Linked DNA regions of Homo sapiens: region 2 is linked to region 1. Evidence: promoter capture Hi-C in human tissues and cell types (Jung and others, 2019). All regions are on one chromosome and are shown on one strand. The core of a region is centred on a gene start or on the middle of the fragment in contact, and the rest is flanking DNA. Distances in the headings are between cores, read along the strand shown.

Region 1 (4,655 bases), core at 818-3,317:
AGCGTCTCGCTCTTTTGCACAGGCTGGAGTGCACTGGCTCAATATCAGCTCACTGCAACCTGCGTCTCCTGAGTCCAAACGATTCTAGTGCCTCAGCCTCCTAAGTAGCTGGGATTACAGGTCGTGTGCCACCATGCCTGGCTAATTTTCGTTTTAGTAGAGACAGGGTTTCACTATGTTGCCCAGGCTGGTCTCGAACTGCTGGCCTCAATCAATCCACCCGCCTCGACCTCCCAAAGTGCTGGGATTACAGGCGTGCACCGCCATGCTCTGCTAATTTTTGTATTTTTAGTAGAGATGAGGTTTTATCATGTTGGTCAGTCTGGTCTCGAACCGCTGGCCTCCAGCGATCCACCCGCCTTGGCCTCCCTAAGTGCGTGGATTACAGGCACGAGCTACCACACCCGGCCTTTTTTTTTTTTTTTTTTAGAGTGAAAGTTTATTAAAAAGCTTTAGAGTAGTAATGAAGGGAAGGAAAAGAAGAAAAGAACACTTGGAAGAAGACCAAGCAAGTGACTTGAGAGACCAAGCACCTGTTACCTGCTTCTTAAAGAGCAAAGAGAAATTAGCCAGCCTAAGTAAGAGGATGGGCCAGGAGTGAGAACTCTCATCAGAGGGAATCACATGTACAAAGTCCTGAGGCAAAAGAGAATACTGCAAATATTCTCTTTTGGTAATTAAAACAAAACAAAACAAAAAATGTACCTCTGGCCAGGTGAGGTGGCTCACACCTGTAATCCCAGCACTTTGGAAGGCAAGGAAGAAGGATTGCCTGAGGCCAGGAGTTCAGGATCATCCTGGGCAACACAGGGAGACCTTGCCTTTACAAAAAAAAAAAAAAGAGAAAGAAAGAAAAAAGAAGTTAGCCACGTTGTGGTGATGCGTGCCTGTAGTCCTAGCTACTCAGGAGGCTGAGTTGGGGGGATCCCTTGAACCCAGGAGTTCAGGGCTGCAGTGAGCTATGATCGTGCGACTGCACTCTGGCCGGGGCACAGAGTGAGATCCTGTCTCTAGCAAAACAGAAAAAAAAGTACCTCAAATTGCAGGGTTTAAAGAAAGCTTATTTAAACTTTGAATATCAACCAAAGGAAATTTTTTCTTAACTCAAAGCTTAAAGATTTGCTTATTAATCTTCTGGAGGGTGGGAAGGTGGGAAGAGGAATCAGAGTTTTAGATTTCTGTTTCATCCCTGACCCCTTTGACCTTTTTTTTTTTTTATCATTCCTTTGTTCATTCATTTATTCAGATATATATACATTGGGCCTGTGCTAGGTGCCTACTAGATGGTGGTGAGTGAAACTGAAATAGTGCCTGCCCTCAGGGAGTTTATAGGTGAGATGGGTGAGCGTGGGAAAACCAATAAAACTGATAAATAAGTGTGTACTTATAAAGTGAGAAAATGGCTAAGAAGTGTGCTATGATGGAAAACAGACAGGAAACTGCAAGGAAGGTCTGTCCAATCAGACCAGCATATCCCTGCAAAGCGACCACAGTCACTGCAGGTGGGATGTGGGCGGTCTTACCAGGCAGTCCTGCCCGCGTGCACACACACGCACACCCTATTTTGCTGGGAATCCGCAAGTGGGGGTGAAGACCTCACCTCAAAACCACCCCTTTTCAACCTGCGTAGGAAAGGACAGTGAAAACGGATTTTCACTGCAGCCCCAAAACCGGAAATGAGAAGCAATCTCCAGAATAGTCCCACTTTTGGAAAGAACTTATTTGAGTAATTAATTCCCTTAGACAAGGGAGCTGCTAAAAACCAGCCCGATCCTGACATGTTCTAAGTGACATTTTCCAATCGCAAACACCCATTTTGGCGTTGGGTGGAGCAGTGAGGAGACTCCACGACACACGCCATTGCTTTCACAATGTGTACAAGAGGAACTGTATATAAGAAAGCAAAGAAATAAGGAGGCCTGGCGGGTGCGGTCAGGCCTTGCCTAGCTGCCGGGTCCCTCGGGCAGGAAAGACTCGTCCTCGCGGCCTGGAACCTTGTGTGTCCGGCTCTGGCTGCCCGGGCCGCCGGCGGAAGCATTTCAGAGTGGGACCGCGAGAAGCCGCTTGTAAACAGAGCCGGGCCGGGATGGTCAGCGCCCGGGCGGGCTGTCACCGTGAGGCGGGCGGCAGGCTGCGGGAGTCAAGCCCCTCCAGGAGCGGACTGAAGGCCCCGCAGGTGAATGGAGAGTAGCAGCCGGGGCCCAGGTGAGCATCCGTCTGCTTCTGTGCTGCCTGGCCGGCCAGTTTGGGGGATGGGGTGGGGACGACTGCATTGTAAATATCCGAGCAGCTCCCAGGGATAGCAGTGATTTTGCTGTTTCTTGCATGCTCAGGTTTTTATTACGTGCTGGAGATTGTACCACACTGCAATGGCTAATGGGTGAGGGGAGATTACATGATGCATTGTCTGCTTATTTTTGTGAATCAGGTATGTAATAGGAGGAGAAAGTAGTTGAAATAGTAGGTGATCTTGTTGAGTGCGTTATTAGTATCCCTGCCATCCCCGCCTGGGGATTATAAAACCAAACCCCAGCAGAGCTTTTAACCTACATCAGGCTGGGGCTTCCAGAAAACGATTGTTCTTTCTGTCGACTCTGTCCGTTTTTAATGTATAGTAAATGACACCACATGACTGATGACAAGCATGGTTTGGTCTTGTAGGAAAGAATTATTAAGCTAAAAAATCAAGATAAGAAAATCTCACACTCATCCCTTAAACAAAAATAAATTACTACTGAGATATATATTTGGATGACAAATTGAGACTGGTCTGGATGTATACCTTGCAAAGCAAGACAAATTTGAATTTACCAGGTTAAACTGAGATTGAGCCATGCTGTTGTAAACTTATTTAGAAGTTTATTTCTCTCTTCTTTTTTCTTCCTTGGAAGGGACCAGAGAGAAACAGCTGAATTTTTTTCTCTATATTTTAAGTAATCGTAGTGAGTTGTGATTTGTATTTATAAAGTATTTTATTATAAAATACTACATGTAAATTATAATTGGCATACTTAAAATACAAGGCAGTTTTTGACTGACTGACTTCAAGAAAATGCCTTAACAAAAGCTGGGCTATATATCTAGTCTCTAAAAATATCAGTAGACATTTGTAACCTTGGTCACATAGTCTTTTAGACAGGAGATGAATATTAGGTTAAATTGCACCTACAATAGATAGATATACATAGAAGAAATGATACTAATTCCTGATGAGTTTTTCTTTACAATGAATATTTTTACAATGTCATGGTTTATAGCAAAAACTATAAAGCCAGACTACTTCAGTTTGAATTCCTGCTTGGTCACTTCCTAGTTGTGTAATCTTGGGCAGTTTACTTAGCGCTTCTGTTTCCTAATCTGTAGAATGGGAATAATAATAGTATTGACCTCATTAGGGTTTTTATTATTGTTATTTTATTTTATTTTATTTTATTTTATTTTATTTTATTTTGAGACAGGGTCTTACTCTGTCATTCGGGCTGGAGTACAGTGGCGTGATCATGGCTCACTGCAGTCTCGACTTCCTGGACTCAAGCGATCCTTCCACCTCAGCCTCCCTTGTGGCTGGAACCATAGGCACAAGCCACCACGCCTGGCTAATTTTTGTACATTTGGTAGAGACAGGGTTTCGCCATGTTGCCCAGGCTGGTCTTGAACTCCTGAGCTCAAGGCTTAGAACCGTACCTGGCATATAGTAATTGCTATATACATGTTTGTTAATAAATATATAAAATAAAAATATGCCAGTGTTGAAAGTGGAATGGTGATTACCAGGGCCTGGAGGGAGGCAGGCAATGGGGATTTGTTGTTTAATGCTGCGGTCCCCTGGTGGTTTTTGGCACCAGGGACCGGAAGACCATTTTTCCACAGAGCGGGTGGTGTGGGGTCGGGGAGTAGGGGGGTGATAGTTACGGGATGAAACTGTTCCACCTCAGATCATTAGGCATTAGTTAGATTCTCATAAGGAGCGTGCAACCTAGATCCCTCGCACGCACAGTTCACAATAAGGTTTGCGCTCCTATGAGAATCTAATGCTGCTGCCGATCTGACAGGAGGCGGAGCTCAAACAGCAATGCGTGGCTGGTCCATCGCTCACTGTTGTGTGGCCCAGTTCCTAACAGGCCATGGACCCGTACTAGTCTACAGACATGGGGGTTGGGGACTCCTGGTTTAATGGGTATAGAGTTTCAGTTTTGCAAAATGAAAAGAGTTCTGGAGATTGGCTGCACAACAATGTGAATGTACTTAACAATACTGAACTGTACACTTAAAAATAGTTAAGATGGGGCTGGATATGATGGCTCAGGCCTGTAATTCCAGTGCTTTGGGAGGCTGAGGCGGGGGCATTGCTTGAACCCAAGAGTTGGAAGTTAAGTGAGGTATGATTACGCCACGCACACCAGCCTGGGCAACAGAGCAAGACCATGTCATAAAAAAAAAAAAGGTTAATATGGTAAATTTCATATTATATATATTTTACCACAATTTAAAACTTTTAAATACCAGTGTTAGCAAAGTTATGTTTTCAAAATTTTATTAGCATGCTGCAGCCCCATTCATAGTTAGTTGCCTTTGCCATTATGGAAATACAGCTTCTGGCAGTCAACAGTAAGATTCATTTTTTTAGTAGATTTGTGTAATTGAGGTTTAATTAT
Region 2 (4,655 bases), core at 842-3,341, 53 kb before region 1:
GAAAAAGACTGTATCTTTTCTTTATTTATGAAGCTTAGTTTTGCTGGATACAAATTTCTTGGCTGATAATTGTTTTGTTTAAGGAGGCTAAAGATAGGACCCCAATCCTTTCTAGGTTGCAAGGTGTCTGCTGAGAAATCTGCTATTAATCTGATAGATATTCTTTTATACATTACCTGAAGCTTTTGCCTTATGGCTCTTAAGCTTCTTTCCTTCATCTTGATTTTAGATAACGTGATAACTATGTGCCTAGGGGATGATCTTTTTGCGATGAATTTCCCAGATGTTCTTTGAGCTTCTTGTATTTGGATGGCTAGATCTCTAGCAAGCCTGGAAAAGTTTTCCTCAATTATTCTCTCAAATGTTTTCCAGACTTTTAGATTTCTCTTCTTCCTCAGGAACGCCAGTTATTCTTAGTTTTGGTCATTTAACATAATCCCAAACTTCTTGGAGACTTCGTTCATTTTTTTAATTTGTTTTTCTTTGTCTTTCTCAGATTGGGCTAATTCGAAAGCCTTGTCTTCAAGCTCTTAAGTTCTTTCTTCTACTTGTTCTATTCTATTGTTGAGACTTTCCAGTGTATTTTGCAATTCTCTAAGTGTGTCCTTCATCTCCAGGAGTTGTGATTGTTTCTTATTTATGCTATCTATTTCTCTGGAGATTTTTCCTTCCATACCCTGTAACATTTTTAAAATGTCTTTAAGTTGGTATTTACCTTTCTCTGGTGCCTCCCTGAGTAGCTTAATAATCGACCTTCTGAATTTTTTTGCTGGCCATTTAGAGATTTCTTCTTGGTTTGGATTGTGAACCTAGAAAACCTGAGACAGCTCTCAGTTAATTTAGAAAGTTTATTTTGCCAAGGTTGAGGACGGACCATGACACTGCCTCAGGGAGTTCTGATGACATGCCCAAGGTGGTCGGGGGCACAGCTTGGTTTTATCCATTTTAGGGAGACAGAAGACAACAATCAATATATGTAAGAAGTACATTGGTTCTATCTGGAAAGGCGGGACAACTTGAAGCAAAGACAGGAAGATTCAAAGCAGGGAGGGATCTTCCAGGTCACAGTTAGGTGAAACACAAACAGTGCATTCTTTTGAGTTTCTGATTAGCCTTTCCAAAGAAGGCAATCAGATATGCATCTATCTCAATGAGCAGAGGGATAACTTTGAATAGAATGGAAGGCAGATTTGCCCTAAGCAATTTCCAGCTAGTTTTTCCTAGTGATTTTGGGGCCCAAGATATTTTCCTTTCACAGGATCCATTGCTGGTGAGCTAGTGTGATCTTTTGGGGGTGTTAAAGTGCCTTGTTTTATCATATTACCAGAATTGTTTTTCTGGTTCCTTCTCATTTGGGTAGACTATGTCAGAGGGAAGATCTGGGGCTCAAGGGCTGCTGTTCAGATTCTTTTGTCCCATAGGGTGCTCCCTTGCTGTGGGGCTCTCCCCTTTCCCCTTGAGATAGGACTTCCTGAGAACCAGACTGCAGTGATTGTTATTTCTCTTCTGGGTCTAGCCACCCAGTGGAGCTACTGGGCTCTGGGCTGGTACTGAGGAGGGTCTGCAAAGAGTCCTGTGATGTGCTCCATCTTCAGATCTCTCAGCTGTGGATACCAGCACCTGCTCCAGTGGAGGTAGCAGAGGAGTGAAGCGGACTCTGTAAGAGTACTTGGTTGTAGTTTTGTTTAGCGTGCCGGTTTTCTCAAATGCTGGTTGTACTGACAGTAAAGCTATCATGTGGACAGACTTAGGACCTCTGGTTAGCCAGGATGTTACAGGCAGTGGAGTTAACCATTGTTTTCTCCTTTCTTGGGGCAGGGTTATTCTTTGATGAGTTGCTGTAACAGTTTGTGTTGGTTGGCCTCCAGCTAGGAGGTGGCGCTTTCAAGACAACTTCAGACAACTTCAGCTGCGGTAGTATGGGGGGACGCAAGCTTGCCCTAGGGTCTCCTGGATGAGCCTTCAGGTTTCTCAGGTGATGGGCGGGGCCCTAGAACTTCCATGAGTTGTACGTCTTTTGTTTTTGGCTACCAGGGCAGGTGGAGAAAGACCATCTATCTGGTGGGGGTAGAGTCAGGTGGGTCTGAGCTCAGACTCTCCTTGGGCGGGGCTTGCCGCAGCCACCTTGGGGGAGGGGGTGTGGTTCTCAGGCCATTGGAGTAGGTTCCCAGTAGGACTATGGCTGCCTCTGCTGTCATACAGGTCGCCAGGGAAGTTGCGGAAAACTGGCAGTGACGGGCCTCACCCAGCTCCCACGCAGACTGAAAGGCCAGTCTCACTCTCCCAGTGCTCCTCGACAGCACCGAGTTTATATCTAGGTGAGTTTATTTGCCAGTGAGCAGGACTGGGAACTCCCTCCACCGCCACCATACAAGCCTCGCGCCTAATAAAGCAAGCAGGGCTTTCAGGCCTTCCCCTCCTCGCTGCGGCTTCTGTGCTCCTATCTGGACTTCCTGTTTGCCCCCGACCCCAGATTCTGCTCTGGAAAATTCATGCTTGAAATCATTATAAAGTTCAGCTGGAAGTTTCCTTCTCCCTGTGGGCTTTCCCTAATTCCACTGGCAGCCCGCTCCCCACAAGGGCCCCTGTGAGATAAAGTCAGAAATGGGTTCTCTGAGCTTCCCTGGGGACCGGGAGTGCCTACAGGGCTCTTCCTGCTGCTGCTTCTACTTTTATATTTTGCTCAGCTCTCTAAATTCGCCTCAGCTCTAGGTAAGGTTAAATCCTTCTCCCATGATATGGATTTTCAGGCTCCCCAGTGAGGATGTGTGTTTGGAAAGAGACTTTCCCCCTCTCACACTCTGGGCACTCACGGTTTTTCAGCTGTGTCTTGGAGTTTGCAGCGGCAAACTCTTCTTTCAAAGGGTCTGTGAATTCTTTTGGTTTTCCTGGTATGTTCTTGCAGTAGTTCTTGGAGCAAAAGTTCACAATGTGAGTCTCCTCATGCTGCAAGTCAGCATGAGAGCTGCAAGTCAGTCCTGTCCCCCATCTGGCAGCTATTTTTATTATGCCTTCTCTTGCCATTCTTGAGAATGTCCAGTGATTGTCTTCCAAGGAAAAACTTTGTATGCTATATTTTCTACCATGCTATTTCATCATCAAATCCTAAATTATCTTTCTAGGTGTGATGAATGAGACAAAAATGCCTGGGATACTTTCCCATATCACTCTGAAGCATCAGCATCCGAAAAAGAAGCAGATGGCACACTCAATATGGATAAATTGAGGATATTTTAATAAAGGGTCTATCTATAATGGTGTAAGCCAGATTAGGGAAACTAGAAAAGAGAAAGTGTAGCACCCTGGAGCTAGCAGTGGGGGAAGCCATTACTTCCTCCCAACTCCCTAACCTAAGGCTCAAGGAAAAAGAGCAACTGTTGCAACCCAGAGAGCTTAGCCATCTAGGGAGGTCTTCTGAAAAGAGCAGTGGCCTTCAGAAGAAGGATGCAGCCAACCTGTGGAGACACAGCAATAGGGAAACAGGTGAATAAATATCCTGGCCTCACTCTTCTCCCACTCTCAGATCCCTTAATGGTATTCACCCTTGGCCAAACTCAAACCACGGGCAAACAAAGCAGTTGAGCCCCCCATAATCATGCTGTTCTTTGTTCTGTTAGATCTTGGAAAGAGTGACATCCCTCCTCCATTCTAGCTTGTCACTTTTTAGGACTTTTTTTCTCAGCCACACAAGGATGACTCAAACACCCCTAAAGTGCAATGTTTTAGCGGGGAAGAATTTTTGATGGAAGTCTAGAAGTACTGAGTGTACAAGTACCTAAATGCTTACTTCACTCAAACAACCTCTGGACCAAAGCATCTCTCTTTCCTAGTTTAGAAACTAGTGATTAGCAAGTGATTAGTAATTGACATCCAGTTTAAAAATAAAAGTTGACTTGACTGATTTCATCATTGAAACTAGTGCTAAATCCTTTGGACTCGTTTAAATATTGGATTCATAACACAACAAACATTTATTCAAATTCTACTATGGCTCAGGGCCTCCATGCATGCTATGGCTTAAGGACACAGGCACATAAGACATCAAATAGCATATTTCTTCACTCAACAAGTGTTTCTTGAGAGCTTTCTATGTGCCAAGTACTACGTGAGATTTATAGTCTAGAGGGAGGGAGGCAGAACAGTAATAACGGTAAATGAGATAATTATAATGCAAGGTGATAGTATTTTAATAGTTATGTGAGTCTATAGAGTTATAAAGGCAAAAGAGAAAAACCCTCATGGCTTGTTATGCGATGAAGCTAATGCTGAACAAATACCACATATTCCTGAGTATGGTCTTCCTGAAGACCAAATTCTTCCTTTTTTTTTTTTTTAAGATGGAGTCTCGCTCTGTCGCCCAGGCTGGAGTGCAGTGGCGCGATCTCGGCTCACTGCAAGCTCCGCCTCCCGGGTTCACGCCATTCTCCTGCCTCAGCCTCCCGAGTAGCTGGGACAGGCGCCCGCCACCACGCCCGGCTAATTTTTTGTATTTTTAGTAGAGACGGGGTTTCATCGTGTTAGCCAGGATGGTCTCGATTTCCTGACCTCGTGATCCACCCGCCTTGGCCTCCCAAAGTGCTGGGATTACACCAAATTCTTTATATACATAATTTTAGAAAATATTTAAAAATGAGTCCTTCTAGAACAACTGTATA

The links. The method cuts DNA at HindIII sites, captures the fragments that hold promoters and counts their contacts. A contact is called where the count stands out against the background at its distance.
Region 2: a fragment that was not itself captured here is called in contact with the fragment with the promoter of PLEKHM3 in region 1 in 1 of the 25 tissues and cell types used here (aorta).

The regions. Positions count from the first base shown.
Region 1 is chr2:208,022,939-208,027,593 of GRCh38, reverse strand. It overlaps PLEKHM3 (pleckstrin homology domain containing M3), which reads left to right and starts at 2,067. Exons shown (of 8, transcript NM_001080475.3): 1 at 2,067-2,205. The HindIII fragment of the contact is 4,894 bases long and covers 756-4,655 here.
Region 2 is chr2:208,075,756-208,080,410 of GRCh38, reverse strand. It overlaps LOC105373854 (a long non-coding RNA gene), which reads right to left. Exons shown (of 4, transcript XR_923815.3): 4 at 3,213-3,455. Among named protein-coding and RNA genes, the nearest start is that of CRYGD, 46 kb to the left of the region's middle. The HindIII fragment of the contact is 3,796 bases long and covers 194-3,989 here.